Regions from separate parts of the Homo sapiens genome. Here region 1 is linked to region 2. The links are contacts of gene promoters, found by promoter capture Hi-C in human tissues and cell types (Jung and others, 2019). All regions are on one chromosome and are shown on one strand. The core of a region is centred on a gene start or on the middle of the fragment in contact, and the rest is flanking DNA. Distances in the headings are between cores, read along the strand shown.

The links. Contacts are between HindIII fragments. The study calls those that stand out against the background at their distance.
Region 1: a contact is called between a fragment that was not itself captured here and the fragment with the promoter of TMC7 in region 2, in 2 of the 25 tissues and cell types used here (mesenchymal stem cells and ovary).

What each region holds. Positions count from the first base shown.
Region 1 is chr16:19,392,869-19,396,059 of GRCh38, forward strand. LOC105371114 (a long non-coding RNA gene) reads right to left here and starts at 864. Exons shown (of 3, transcript NR_188657.1): 1 at 508-864. RefSeq lists an enhancer at 362-1,561. The HindIII fragment of the contact is 3,858 bases long and covers 1-3,191 here.
Region 2 is chr16:18,982,329-18,985,464 of GRCh38, forward strand. TMC7 (transmembrane channel like 7) reads left to right here and starts at 1,606. Exons shown (of 16, transcript NM_024847.4): 1 at 1,606-1,802. The coding sequence starts at 1,736. RefSeq lists a silencer at 1,517-1,576. The HindIII fragment of the contact is 36,131 bases long and covers 1-3,136 here.

The sequences.
Region 1 (3,191 bases), core at 110-2,609, 410 kb after region 2:
ATGTGTCAGGCAGGGACGAGTGCTTTGGAAAATAATAAAGCAGAAGCCGGGTGTGGTGGCTCATGCCTGTAATTGCAGGCTCCCACCAAGGTGGGAGGATCACTTGAGGCCAGGAGTTCAAGACCAGCCTAGGCAACATAATGAGACCCTGTCTCTACTAAAAATTTTTAGAAGTTAGCCAGGCATAGTGGTGCACGTCTGTAGTCCCAGCTACTCAGGAGGCTGAGGCAGGAGGATCACTTAAGGCCAGGAGGTCAAGGTTGCAGTGAGCTAGGATTGTGCCACAACACTCTAGCATGGGCAATTTCAGGGGTCCCTGAAGTCCCCTCCTTTTCCAGAATACCTAATGATTATTCCACCCCCTAATTAAAGAAACACCAAATAAAATTAGAAACCCAAACTCTGTTTGCGTGACTCGTTCTCACGAGCATGCACCCACTTCTCTCTTAAGTGCAGACTTTTGCTTTCCAATAAAAGCTTCTTGCATTTCACTTCATTCTGACTCACCTGTGAATTCTTTCTTGTGATGATGTCAAGAATCTGGGGACCGGCTGTGGCTGGGGTCTCGTTGGCATCCAGAAACCCTCCTGAGCCCTCTTGTGACACCAGGATTTGCCGACAGAGCAAATGTGAGGAGAGGCATCAGAATTTCTCTAAGACTTCTGAGCTGAGCAACCATCTAGAAGGTTGGAGCTGCTTTATTTGGTGGGGAATGTTAGGGAAACCAGCCCCACACCACCCAGTGGGTACCCTGAGTCTGGTGGAGACATAGGAGTTAGAAAGAGACAGAATAAGCATTTAAAAGGCGGGTTCAGGGGACCAGAATATCGGAGGCTTGCTCACGGCCCAGAGCTCTTGAGCTCTGCCAAATTTACTGGTTTACAAGCTCTTTGTTCTTAGGGCAGATGGGAGGGGGAGGAAGGGATGAGGAAAAGGATTAATCAGTGAAGGAGAACTCGTGAGTCATTCCATAAGATGTGTAGCAGTGGCGGTTTCTGTGAATTTCCTTGAGCAAAGGCGTGTGTCTAAACTACTTAAGATCTTTAGCTTATCAGGACTGAAATGGGTGGGAGCGGGTTTAAGGAGGAGCCAAGATGTTTGATTATACTCCACTGCTTCAAGGGAGTGTTGTCTCCCTGAGCAACCTGTGGAATGCTGCTGAGTGGTTATGCTCTTGGGGCATAAAGACATGAAAGCAATAAGGAGACTTTTCTCCCCAGAGGCTGCCCATGGCTTCCCATGGGTGTCTCACACAGGGGAGACCAACTCAACTGGCACCCCAGAAACACTTTCCCACATGTTCCCCTTTTTTGCCTCTATTGATTTTTTTTTATTAATAACTGCCATTGCTATTATGGCTCATTCATGGTGTCTGGTTTCTCTCCCAAGGCACCATCTGCATCTGTAGACTAAAAACAAGCAACATAAACAGACACAAACCAAAATAAAATTTGCAATTGTTGATCCACCTATGGTTTCAATCCACTTTAAAGGATTGGTATTAGAAAGGCCATCAGAGGCTCCAGCAAGAATATCAGCTCCAGGCAATAGGGTGAGATGAGCCTGAGATGCCTCAAAAACTTGTTTTTTCAGTTTAGCAATATCTAATGTTAAATTATCTTTTTTTCCTTGTAGGTGACGTCTAATCGTCTCTCACTGGTGTTCAATGGCATTATAAGAGCTAGGAGTAAAACAAAAATCGGAAGTATTCCAGTCACATTGTTTTTGAATTCTATGCTCCAAGCTCATAATCCAATCTCCCATCCAAATTACTGTTTGACAGAGATCATTAATTTGATTTGCCAATTTTTGACCTATTTGGCTTTGGGAATTCCAAAGCTTAGAAGAATTTTTCTGCCAACTATCCACAAAGCCCGCTGTTTGAATAGAAGAGTGCAAAGCAACACCAGCAGCAGCAGCAGTAGCTGTGACAGCTATAAGGCCCATGATCACAGCTATTAAAGTAAATATGAATCTCTTTGATCTATTAAGTATTCCTTTTAGTACTTCCGTGATAATATGTATGGAGGGAGAGGCCTCCCAAGGTCTATTGAGGGAAACAGTTATTCAAACTCCTTGGGCCCTAACCGGTAAAATGCTATTATCTTTATTAAAGGTAGAATTAATGCAGGTAAAAAGATGACAGTTGAGGCATGATATGGTTTGAGAGTCAGTTAGGATATTAATTTTTCCCACTGCCAACATAAAAGGAGGTTTAACAAAACTCTGCAATGGGAATGTCTGATTAGAGGTCATGGCTACGACAAATCAAAGTTTTTTTTACTAAGGGTCTTTGTTTTATATTCTCCTTTCCAAATCCGAATTGGGGTTTGAGCCATCATTAATTTCCACAATTCTAGATGTTCTGGACTTATAATTGGATCAATCATTTTTGGGCTTGAAAGAGCCATACCGTTCTCCTCCCACTTAATAGGTTAATTTGTTTTAATTCTTCTATATAATTTTGGTGCATTATCTGGGTAGTTGTTTGCAAAAGGAGTCTCTCTACCATCTTCGCACTGTCCAGTACAATTTACTGCAAAGCGTCCCATAGGGGCCCAATCAATGACGATTCCATAGGAATTACTTTGCAGTACAGCAGTGCTGTTTGCAATACAATCTTCCCAGGTTAGCACCTCTAGCTTTCCAGACCATTTAGTGGCCTTCCTAGGGCAGGGCTTCTTATTAGGTTTATATTTATTAATCTGGCGATGTGTCATAACATAGCCGTGCTCAAGGTATTTAATAGTGTCCAAAGATTGAAATGTTCTTCCACTGATTGCATGAATAGGGGCTTTTGATCCATTATTTGCAGGGACACAAGTCATCCAACTTTGTTTATCATAATTTAAACATCCTGCTGCCGGCCCCAGGCAGATGGAAGGAAAGTGATAACCAATGGAAACATTCATTAACATTCCTTCCTCCTCTGGATGAGTAGGGCCTCGGTTATCTATTGGTCCAGGCATCCAGATACTATCATTAACATGGGGTCTAACCATGTAACAGGCCTAATCAGTGGTGGGAATGGAATGTAGGCCCAGTAAGTGTAATTTTGATCTGCCTCAGCTATGGGGAGACTCACTGCAGGGAGATTACCACCATCATAGCTACCATTAGATTACTGGTGGTCAGCAGCTTGTTCAGAGACCTCAGGTTCTCTTCTGCAATGTGAGCTAGGCTCTTCACCT
Region 2 (3,136 bases), core at 356-2,855:
AGTGCCCTTCTCATCCCATCGTAGGAAGGGTGCACACCATCCTCATGGCTTAATGTTGATGTTAACTTATTTACTTATTTACTTTTTTTTTTTGAGATGGAGTCTTACTCTGTTGCCCAGGCTGGAGTGCAGTAGTGCAATCTCGACTCACTGCAACCTCCGCCTCCTGGGTTCAAGAGATTCTCCTGCCTCAGCCTCCCTAGTAGCTGGGATTACAGGCGCCCGCCACCATGCCCAGCTAATTTTTTTGTATTTTTGGTAGAGACAGGGTTTCGCCATGTTGGCCAGGCTGGTCTCGAACTCCTGACCTCAAGTGATCCACCTGCCTCGGCCTCCCAAAGTGCTGGGATTACAGGTGTGAGCCACTGATCCCGGATGATGTTAACTTTGATCATCTGTCTGAGACAGTGTTTGTCAGGTATTATCTAATATAAAACCCACCCTCACCCTCTTCCACCACCACTTCCATACTGCACTCTTTTGGAAGGATGTCGCTATGGGCAACTCACACTTAAGGAGTAGGGAGCTAAGCTCCCCATCCTTAAAGTATCTACGTAAATGATTTCAAAATCTGCACAGGAGATTTCTCTCCATTTTCCCCATTTATTTATATTTAGCAATTACTTTTCTTTTTCTTTTTTTTTCTGAGATGGAGTCTCCTTCTGTCGCCCAGGCTGGAGTGCAGTGGCGTGATCTCGGCTCACTGCAACCTCTGCCTCCTGGGTTCCAGCGATTCTCCTGCCTCAGCCTCCCTGGTAGCTGGGACTACAGGCATGCACTACCATGCCAGGCTAATTTTGTATTTTTAGTAGAGACAGGGTTTCACCGTGTTGGCCAGGATAGTCTCGAACTCCTGACCTCAGGTGATCCTCCCGCCTCGGCCTCTCAAAGTGGTGAGATTACAGGTGTGAGCCACTGCGCCTGGCAATTTTATGTTTTTAACCTGCACACGAACAGAGGTAGAGATGAAACGAGGATATAGTGCAAAACGTAAAAGACAAACACTGCACGTGGTTTTCTCTTCACTCGGCCCTCTAGCTCCCCACCCAGAGCTACCACAGGTAGCCAGTTTTTTGCACCCTCTAGGGAGATAGCTTAGGCATTTACAAGCATGTACAAATATATTTTTTGGTTTCCTTTTTGTTCCCAAATGGTAACTTACTAGATGCACTGATTTGGAGTCTTGGGGTTTTTTGCGTGTGGACTTTTTATTTTTTAATTTTAAAGATGGGGGTCTCACTGTGTTGGCCAGGTTGGTCTCAAACTTGTGAGTTCGTGCGGTCCTCCAGCCTCGGACTCCCAAAATGCGAGGATTACAGACGTGAGCCACCACTCCCAACCAGTTATTTTTGTTATTTATTTCTTTATTAGATCAGGTTTGATTTTAGATGCAGGGGGTCCATGTGCATGTTTGTTACATGGGTGTACCGGGTCCTGGTGGAGACTGGGCTCCCAGTGCGCCCAATCTATTGTTATTTTTTAAGCTCAGTGAGACATCAGGGAGGTCGCTGCTTGTCGCCACCGCTGGATGGAGCCTTGCCGGATCTCCCGGGCTCTGCAGCCCCTCTGCGGTCCCTGATGCTCGGCTCCTCGCGGGGGCGCCCCACTCCGGCTTCTGTGATGTCAGCGCCGGAACCTGGAATCCCGGCTCCGCGAGGGAAGGCCGGGGAGGCGGCGGCGGCGGCGGCGGCTGGAGAGGGTCCTCGGCAGCCTCTGAGGAGCGCGGGGCGCGGCCATGAGCGAGTCCAGCGGCAGTGCGCTCCAGCCCGGCAGGCCCAGCCGGCAGCCGGCGGTCCATCCAGGTAGGGCGGCAGGGAGCGCGCGCGGGGACGGTGCCCCTGGGGTCCGAGGGCGCACGGAGGGAGCCGGGTGCTGGAGGCTCGGCCTGGCCGCTGTTCCCTCCCACCCCCGACGCCGGGTGCTCCCGGCTCTGGGGAACAGCAGGTGGGAAGGAGATCTTCCTTATTCCTGCTCCCTCCACAAACGCGTCCTCATCCAATCCAGTGGAACCCAGCCGGGCCAAAAGGACACGAGAACTGCAGTCTGGACCGTGGTGGGTTTGTCTTCCAGCTGTTGACCGAGACAGTCTTTCAATAGCCTCATCTGCTGTTAAATGAAAGGATTTGAGCACCCCCTCCACGCCTAACATTCTGGTATGAGGTGCCTGCCTCCCGGACATTTCAGCCTTCACATACAGTTAGACCAACTTGAAACCGAATTCTGCCTTGTCTGTTTATTGCTGTGGGACCTTTGGTAAGTGGCTTGCCTTCTCTGAGCCTCAGATCCTTCAGCAGTAAAATGGGAATAGAATGGGGCGGGGATTAGCTGAGAATCGTGTGATGTGTCTAGCACAGTGCCTGGCATTGTGGCTAGACAGTCACAATAAATGGTAGCCAGCCAAGTATTATAATCTTTTGTATCGGGTAGAATTACAGTAAAGTATACAGCTCCATGAATTTCTACAGAAATATGTACAACGGCTGCCCAGTCAGGATAAAAAAGTTGCCAGCACTCAGGCAGGGTTCCTTGTAGCATTTGGAGCTTACGAATCTTGTCCTGAACAAAACACAAGACCCTGCTGTAAAGTTTTATCTGCAATGTTTTCTCTTTTTCAGTTTTAGAATAGAGATTTACTGAAACCAAGGATGTAGGGCCGGGCGTGGTGGCTCACGCCTGTAATCCCAGCACTTTGGGAGGCTGAGGCGGGTGGATCACGAGGTCAGGAGTTCAAGACCAGCCTGGCCAAGATGGTGAAACCCCATCTCTACTGAAGATACAAAAATTAGCCAGGAGTGGTGGTGGGTGCTTGTAATCCCAGCTACTTGGGAGGCTGAGGCAGAGAATAGCTTGAACCCGGGAGGCGGAGGTTGCAGTGAGCCGAGATTGCGCCACTGCACTCCAGCCTGGGCGACAGACCAAGACTGTTTCAAAAAAAAAAAAAGAAACCAAGGATATAGAATAAAACATGAGTGTAGATTTGGTCATTGAGGCCTTCAAATTGGATTGTTCCCAATGTCCAGAAGAAAAAAAAAATTTAGAAGAGACCCAAATCAGAAAACAAAAGTTGGGGTGGATTCAATGCGAATTATTTTCTAGCTCAATATTAATACTGCTTATGTCAGCTGAATTTCAGCCT